3 separate regions of the Homo sapiens genome follow, and all the other regions are linked to region 1. The links are contacts of gene promoters, found by promoter capture Hi-C in blood cells and fetal thymus (Javierre and others, 2016). All regions are on one chromosome and are shown on one strand. The core of a region is centred on a gene start or on the middle of the fragment in contact, and the rest is flanking DNA. Distances in the headings are between cores, read along the strand shown.

Region 1 (3,019 bases), core at 75-2,574:
AATGAGAAACTAATTCACTGATAATTATACATGCAAAGAAACTAATTATTAAAATAAGTTTTCATTTTGTTAGATAACTTTATAACGTTAAAAAATGGAAAAGTCCTGTAGGGAATGATTTGGAACATGGCCCAGATCCCAGTCACAGGACCAAGGCACTCAATCCCCCAGCTGCTGGGAGTGTTGGTTGCTTATTGCTCACAGCTGAGTCCCTTCCTGCACATCTCACTCTCCAAAAGCCTTAACCCAGCGTTTTGCTTCCTCCCCAGAAACATCCCACATTTAATGAGCAGTCAGTAAGAGGGTCTAAAGGTCTGCCCCCTGGCCTCAATTCAGGATGACTCTGAAAGGAAATCCCGGCTCCAGAGCCCTTACTGGATTGCCTGAGGCCTCTATTACAAATTGTTCACAGTTCAACTTCTTTCTCCCTCCGCCCAACCCGGCCTCCCTCACTCCATTATAGGTGTTGTTCTTAAGAGCACACTCCAATTACCCTCCTGCAAACCAGTCTCCCCCCCAACTCAGAGTCCAGGGAATTCTACCTAAGACGATTTTGAAAGCGGTCCTAGAAATCAGGCTCTAACATGGGATTTTGAAGCTAGATCACCTGCCAGCCAGCTGCCAATAAGAACCTCATCCCTGGTCAGTATTCAGAGCACCTGTCACGCTGCACGATGTGATTACTAACTTGAATCCACTCATGCTAAGCTGTGTCCCAACCTAGTTAACTGTATTTAAAATAAATAAACCACAGGACTTGATGCATGTACTTTATTGCACTGAGTTTTTCTTGCTATACCTTGGACAAGACTGCCACCTCCTGGAAGAGCCGATGAATACTGGGGACGAGGTGCAATTAGGGAATCGGTACTATGAAATTGCTTGCGTCTCAGCAGCAACTCCCTATCTCTCCGCGAACTTAAACCAATTCCTAACCTTTCTCAACCTCTGTGAACAGCTTTTTGCATGGAACCAAGACTTCAAAGAACTTGCGCATCACAATCTTTTTACGTGAAAATGTAAATACAAGTTAGCATTTGTGAAGCGTTATGTGCCAAATGCTTTAATTTTTAAGGCTCACAACAGCCTTATGAGGTAGGAACTATCATAAGCAGATCCACACTGCTGATGGAAAAATTAAGTTTAAGGGAACGTAAGGCGACGGCTCTGAGGCGGAATCGCCACTTGGAGTCGGGACTCAACTGCTGAGAGCGCAAGCTCCGTAACTACGTAACCGTCTCGGGCATGCGCAGAAAAACACTGAAGCACCTTCCCTAGGAGCTGTAAGTAGGTGGGTGTGGTGGGAGCCTCTGCAATCCCAGCATTCCCTTCGTGCCGCTACCAAGATGGCGGCGCCCATCTTGCGGTCCTTTTCCTGGGGCCGGTGGTCTGGTACCCTAAATCTCTCAGTATTGTTGCCCTTGGGGCTGCGTAAGGCCCACTCGGGCGCTCAGGGGTTACTGGCAGCGCAGAAGGCTCGAGGTCTGTTCAAGGACTTCTTCCCGGAGACGGGGACGAAAATAGAGCTCCCAGAGCTCTTCGACCGTGGCACGGCGAGTTTTCCCCAAACCATTTACTGTGGCTTCGACCCCACGGCAGACTCGCTTCATGTGGGTCATCTACTTGCGCTGCTGGGCCTGTTTCATTTGCAGCGAGCGGGCCACAACGTGATCGCGCTGGTGGGAGGCGCCACGGCGCGCCTGGGAGACCCGAGCGGCCGTACCAAGGAACGCGAGGCGCTGGAGACAGAGCGCGTGCGAGCCAACGCGCGAGCTCTGCGCCTAGGGCTTGAGGCCCTGGCGGCTAATCACCAGCAGCTTTTCACTGATGGGCGCTCCTGGGGCAGCTTCACTGTGCTGGACAACTCGGCCTGGTACCAGAAGCAGCACCTGGTGGACTTCCTGGCGGCAGTGGGGGGTCACTTCCGCATGGGGACGCTGCTGAGCCGGCAGAGCGTGCAGCTGCGGCTCAAGAGCCCCGAGGGCATGAGCTTGGCCGAGTTCTTTTACCAGGTGCTCCAGGCCTATGACTTCTATTACCTCTTCCAGCGTTATGGATGCAGGGTCCAGCTGGGCGGATCTGATCAACTAGGCAACATCATGTCCGGATATGAGTTCATCAACAAGTAAGTGCCTTTAAACCTTGGGGAAATCCTGGGACCAAATAATTTACACACTAGTAGCCTGTGATTCACTCTTAGGATTGTAGTTGCTGCCCTTCGTTCCAGCTCTTGTTGGTTTTATCCCCATTAAGGCTCTATAATGGCGTTAATAACACTGGCTAATAAGAATTAAAGGGCTGAATTAAGGGTATTAAGAGTAAACGGTGTATTCTAAAAATTAGCTGGGCGTGGTGATGCACGCCTGTAATCCCAGCTATTCGGGAGGCTGAGGCAGGAGAATCTCTTGAACCCGGGAGGCGAAGGTTTCAGTGAGCCGAGATCGCGCCACTGCACTCCAGCCTGGGGCAACAGAGGGAGACTCCGTCTCAAAAAAAAAAAAAAAAAAAAGGGAAACAGACCACTAGTGAAGATTTGGTCGGTCTGTTTTGCTTCGCCTAAGTCGTCCTCTCTAATTAGAGAAACTGCTTTTGTGTGTTTATACCAGAACGTGACTGGGCCTCCTTGAGTAGCTAGCCTCTGCTTTAGCTCTGCACCCTCCATGAAACTAGTGTTAGTCCTTGGTTGGTATCTCAAAAAGTTTTTTCAACTCCAAATAATTGACAAGTAATGCGGGTCTAATAGCATTTTCTTGAGAGAGGTGAAGGATAGGGCTAGCTCATGTGCAACAGAGCAAAGCACATGTTTAAAAGGCGTTTAGAAGATTTCCTTTAGTGTCTCTTCCTGACACCCCTTCACCCAGTTTTCTCCTTCCCACTCAGCCTTTCAAAATCTCTAGTCCATTGTTATGTAGCACTTCCCCTTGGCCTGCCTAGAACCTGCCTGGAACCACTCATGAGGTTCAGAATGAATAGAGTAAGTACTGTAACAATACATAAGAGGAACAAGAATTCAGATTTA
Region 2 (2,735 bases), core at 107-2,606, 780 kb before region 1:
AAGTGAGATGATTTTAAAATAAATCCCATAATATTTTAAGGGAGAATAGGTAAAGCAAAATCCTTGAGGAGGAGGTGGAGAATAGTCAGGATGCAGGGAATATGATCAAGGACAGAGGAAGAGAGTCATCTTAGCAGGCAAGAACACATGGACACAGGGAGGGGAACATCACACACTGGGCCTGTCGGTGGGTGGGGGGGTTAGGGGAGTGATAACATTAGGAGAAATACCTAATGTAGGTGACGGGTTGATGGTTGCAGCAAACCACCTGGGCACGTGTAACAAAACTGCACATTCTGCACATGTAACCCAGAACTTAAAGTAAAAAGACAAACACCCACCACCAAAAAAAAAATATAACAATAAATTAAAAATTAAAAAATAAAGTGTCAAGGAGGGATGCAAAGTTGGGGGAGTCTTATGGTATTTATTTATGGTATTTATTTCTAGCAAATGGCTAGAAATATGGTATTTATTTCTAGCAAATGGCTAGAAACATGGTATTTATTTCTAGCAAAAGGCTAGAAATCAGATTGCCATGCTTCTAAGGGAGCACCTTCTCCAGATGGAAAGGGATTTGACAAGGCACTGTTGGTAACAATTTTTTGGGGAGGAAAGCTTACATTTAATCCTTATGAAGTGTGACTGCTTATTAAATTGATCAAAGCTCTATTAGAACATGAACATGTTACTGATAAGACTATCACATGAAGCAGTTAAGTAATTAAAATCTGATTTGCCATGCTGCCCATGAACCCTTAACAATGTGTTTTTGAATGAAGGCAGGGAAGATGAGAGAGGTGGCACCATGAAATTTTTGATTTCAACAAACTAAGGAATAGGTTAAAAAAAAAAAGGCAAAAGATCTGTTTTAAGGAGAGCTTCAAATAGAATCAAAGTTAAGTCTGTGCACCTAATAAAGCTGTGTGGTGTTATGGTATTATTATTGAGGGAGAGAATCTATGGTTTCCCTAAATTATACATGTATCAGCAATATCATCAACACCTTCAGGATTCTACACGTCCAAAATCTAACTGCCAAACACAGCCCTGGGTAATGACAGAGCTGGTCTCTGGGGAAATCGTCCAGGGGACAGTTGTGGATTAAAGACGGGTAGTCAGAGGAAAGAATAAATTGATGACAGACACAAGGTAAGCAATGATTGCTTTGGGGTAGGAATAGAAGAACACAGAGGGGAGAGAAAATAGTACTTACCTAGAATACCCAAGTGCAAAAAGAGCAAAAGTGCCATTAGAAAAGTGTGCCTAGAGGGTCTCTCTGAGCCTCCTCTGGCTCAAGAGGCTGCCAAATTCGTGAATCATTCTTTGCTCAATTAAACTCTGTTAAATTTTATTCAGCTAAGAATTTTCTTTTCACAGATGTGTCAGAAGTGGGATCTGAAGTACAGCTTCTAATGACCCCCAGGAGTGCTGAGTGACCAAGAAAGGTACCCACTGCACCCATTTGTCTCCATTGCTCTCTCACAGCACTGGGATCATGGTAAGTTCTCTCTCAGACTCTGAAGCCCCATAGAGTTTTGTTTTGAGCTCTCCAAGTTTCTTTGAACAAATTCTGATCCAAACTGGGTTTGGAAGTTGTGACAGAAACTGGACTGAGTCCAGGATTGGATTCTATATTAACTGGCTTAGATCCATAAAAGAGGCCTCTTATGTCTGACTGGATCAGAAAGAAACTGGTAGTAAATGGCAGTATCGCAGAGGGTATAAACTTTGGCTTTTAAAAGTTTGCAGGAATTTTTGTGTTCTACCACCTTTCTTTTTCTTGCATGCTTGGGTAGGAAAAAAATCATTGGCTAAGTTAATCAAGGAGATCTGAAAACCAAGGTAAATATGTGAGGTAAAAATGGAATCCTTAGTTTCTGGAGAACTGAGTACCTTCCAGCTTACACATGCATAAATAAGTATTAGGCCCTGGAAGCAGCAAAGTCTTAGAGAAATCGTAAAATCTTACTAAAGATTACTTACAGTGGAAGATTCCAAATGAACAAACTGTACTGAAGAAGCACATTTGAAAATGAGGGCTCTCAAACTAGTGTCTTATCTAGGGATGCCTATTGAGAGGCAGAAGCTTTTAAAACGATTTCAATATTTTTATTTAAAAACAAATAAAAAGCTTAAGTGACTAACTGATAAGAAAAATTAAATCTGCTAACCTTTTGGCTTAGTTACTATCCTGCCCCGAAGGTGAAAAGAAAACTATCCTAGAGAAAGTGCTTATAAAAGGTAGGCCCTCAGGTAAAATAGGCTTGCTTCTTTTTCAGATCTATCCATGCTGAGTCCAGGCCTAGGGAATGCCTTCTTTGCCCTATTCCTTGATGGGTTCCACCCTTAACTCAGTAATTTTAGCTAAGAAACAGTAGCTAAGTTAAAAAGAACACCTATCAAACTAAAATACACCTTTCTGGAATTTAATTGGCTATCTTAAAACCCTTTTGTAAAAAATAATTACATCTATTAAGGAAATCTCCATGTTTAAGGATGTCTGCCTATGTACATTAGAAACTCTTACCATTGTTTTAAATTTACATAAATCATACCTTTGTTTAAGGTGAAAAAACAAAGTGTGCCTAGAGTCACAGCATCATATATTAATTCGGTACATTTATTTAAAAATGAGCATGAAGTACTTGCTCTTTATAATTTCTATTTCTTAACTATAATCACAACAGAAGTACACATTAAAGAGCCAAATAATTAGTTATCAAGACAGCATT
Region 3 (2,984 bases), core at 41-2,540, 850 kb before region 1:
TGGCTTTCCCATTTTAGTTTTAAAGTTACAGAAAGTGAAAGCTAAATTGAACAATCTAGGCGTGTGCGTGTGTGTGTGTATATATATATATGTATGTATTTTAAATCTTAAATTCAATTTGGGATAAAAGCAAAGAATCCCATAAAATACCAAAAAGAATATTCCAATTAAGGCAATTAAGAATTGCAGGCTGGGCGAGGTGGCTCACGTCTGTAATCCCAGCACTTTAGGAGGCCAAGGCGGGTGGATCAGGAGGTCAGGAGATCGAGACCATCCTGGCTAACACAGTGAAACTCTGTCTCTACTAAAAATACAAAAAATTAGCCAGGCGCGGTGGCGGGCACCTGTAGTCCCAGCTACTACTGAGGCAGGAGAATGGCTGAACCCCGAAGGCGGAGCTTGCAGTGAGCCAGGATCGCGCCACTGCACTCCAGCCTGAGCGCAGAGCGAGACTCCGTCTCAAAAAAAAAAAAAAAAAAAAAAAAAAAAAAAAAAAAACCAGAATTGCAGAAGTCCCGTGACTGGAATGCACTTAGCACATTCTGTGAGTGATAAGAAGGCAGGTGTGATAAATAACAGCAGGGAAAGTGAAACCGATGGTGAGAATTGAGGTTGGTAGATATCCACAGCCACGACTTATACAGCCTTGTAGGTAGGACATAATAAAGTCACTGGAGTTCAACTTGAATGTGAGGGGAAATCATCGAGACTATTCTTAACAACTCACTGATGCTACCACCTTTGGATCAACTATTTCACTCAGAGAAACTCCTCCAGAAAATATCAGTGACAGACCACCCTATTAACCATATAAAGTATGAGGTCTAGCATCAACATGTGACCCTGAGACATCTTTCCATCCTTGGAAAAACAAATTAAATTACTTAATCTTTTGTAAATTTTTGTGCCATGGGTATAGAAGGTGTTTTGTTGTTGCTGCTGCTGCTGCTGCTGTTTTTCCTATCAATGCAAACGATATTTCCACTCCAAACTCTGCAGTCCCACTTGTGATGCATTCAGCTATTCAAAAAGCATTTGCTGAGCCTTCACTTAGTGACAGATGCTGTGCTAAGCTCTGGGTATAGAGCACTGACCAAAATAAGCTTGGCAGCTGATGTCAGTAAACTACTCTAGTGGCCCTTAAAATCCAGGAATCATTTACAAGCTTCACAATGGTTGATACCTGCCACCACCTAATTAGAGACAAAATATCTATATCTACTTACTTAGCTTACTGAGTTTTGTATAAACGCATTTTAAAGACTCATCCTATCAAAGTTATTTCAGTATTCATTGTTTTAATTAACAAGATAATCACATCTTCAGATATTAAAGTACAGCATTACAAATGGGAAAATGCTAAGCTCAGTTAAAATAGAAACTACATGATAGCTGGAAGATTTTCTGTAAGCTTTGAGGAACAGAATGTATAATGCATCAGTGGCAAACCAACCTATATTTGAATTGCTAACTTGTTTCCTCAGGAACATTTCTTCACTCCACCAGGAGAGGGAGGTTTACTAGGGTGAGATTTTTACAACCGGAAGTCTTGTGCAGTGTCTCCTCTCTCAGGATTTATGTAGAAATAGGTCATGCTATTTTATTTCATTACCGTCACCAGTTATTGCCATTATTTATTTTTAACAGGTGTGTTAGATATATATTTGATATACAATAAATTGCAAATATTCAAAATATACAAACTGACATTTTGACATACATGTGCATATAAGAAACCATCAACTTAATCAAGGTAATAATAATAAAGGTGTTTTTACACTACCTCCCCAAGTGTGTCCCATTCTGCTATGTAATTCTGCTTTCTACCCATTCCTGCCCCTTACCCCTTGTCACATGAAAACCAATGATGATCTGCTTTACGTTACTATAGATAATTTGGATTTTTAGAAATGTATATGAATGGAATAATAGAACATATACTTATTTTTGTCTGGCTTGTTTTATTCAGCATAATTATTTTAATATTTCCGTATGTTATACATTTCAAAAGTCCATTCCTACTTATTTCTGAGTCATATTTCAAATTATGAATAGTTTACAGCTTATTTATTCATCTTCTAAGTACTTCTTAGCTGCACCCCACAATTTTTTCTTTGTATTTGTATTTTATTGTTTTTCTCATGTAAAGAATAACTTTATACAAAATTATTGAACATAACATAATTTAAAGTTAAAGTACCTTTAAATTTTAAATTTACCTTTTGACTTATTATTTGGCCCATGGGTTATTTAAAAGTATACTATTCAGTTTTCAAATATTTGGGGATTTTTTTCATGTATCTTTCTCCTGTTAATTTTAACTTTAATTTCATGGTGATAAGAGAACAGACACTGCATGGCGTGAATCCACTCAAATTTTTGAGGCTTGTTTTATGGTTCAGACATGGTCTATACTGGTAAATGTTCATGCCCTTGAAAGGAATGTACATTCTGCTGTGTCAAGTGAAGGGTTTTTAAATGTCAACTAGACAATTTGGTTGCTATGCTGTTCATGTCTTCAGTGTCCTTACTGACATTTTTGTCTGCTTATTCTGTTGGATTTTTAGGATTTGTCTATTTTCCTTACAGTTCTATCCATTTTTGTTTCATGTACTATGATGCTCTGGTTTTAGGCATACAAACTTTTAATATTAATATGTTTTCTTGGTGAATATATCCCTTTATCATTATAAAGTTATGCTTTATATGTCTGCTAACATTTTTGCTTTGAAATCCACTGTGTCTGATTTTAGCACAACCATTATAGATTCTTTTTGGTTAGTGTCAGCATGGTATACCTTTTCCCTTCATTTTATTTCTAATCTATTTGTGTCTTTGCACTTAAAATGTACGTTTTGTGAGCAGCATGTAGTTGGGTCTTGCTATTTTATCCGATATGTGAATCTCTTCCTTCTAATGTGATTACTGATAAGGTAGGGTTAAAGACTACCATCTTTCTGTTTTCTATTTGCCCCATTTATACT

What was found. The method cuts DNA at HindIII sites, captures the fragments that hold promoters and counts their contacts. A CHiCAGO score of 5 or more calls a contact.
Region 2: a fragment that was not itself captured here is called in contact with the fragment with the promoter of YARS2 in region 1 in 1 of 17 cell types (M0 macrophages); the score reaches 5.4 in M0 macrophages.
Region 3: a fragment that was not itself captured here is called in contact with the fragment with the promoter of YARS2 in region 1 in 1 of 17 cell types (monocytes); the score reaches 7.5 in monocytes.

What each region holds. Positions count from the first base shown.
Region 1 is chr12:32,754,202-32,757,220 of GRCh38, reverse strand. YARS2 (tyrosyl-tRNA synthetase 2) reads left to right here and starts at 1,324. Exons shown (of 5, transcript NM_001040436.3): 1 at 1,324-2,125. The coding sequence starts at 1,347. RefSeq lists enhancers at 465-1,104, 1,309-1,538, 1,559-1,658, 1,105-1,744, 2,029-2,188 and 1 more. The HindIII fragment of the contact is 6,832 bases long and covers 1-3,019 here.
Region 2 is chr12:33,535,263-33,537,997 of GRCh38, reverse strand. No RefSeq gene overlaps it. Among named protein-coding and RNA genes, the nearest start is that of SYT10, 97 kb to the right of the region's middle. The HindIII fragment of the contact is 1,471 bases long and covers 621-2,091 here.
Region 3 is chr12:33,604,505-33,607,488 of GRCh38, reverse strand. No RefSeq gene overlaps it. Among named protein-coding and RNA genes, the nearest start is that of SYT10, 170 kb to the right of the region's middle. The HindIII fragment of the contact is 246 bases long and covers 1,168-1,413 here.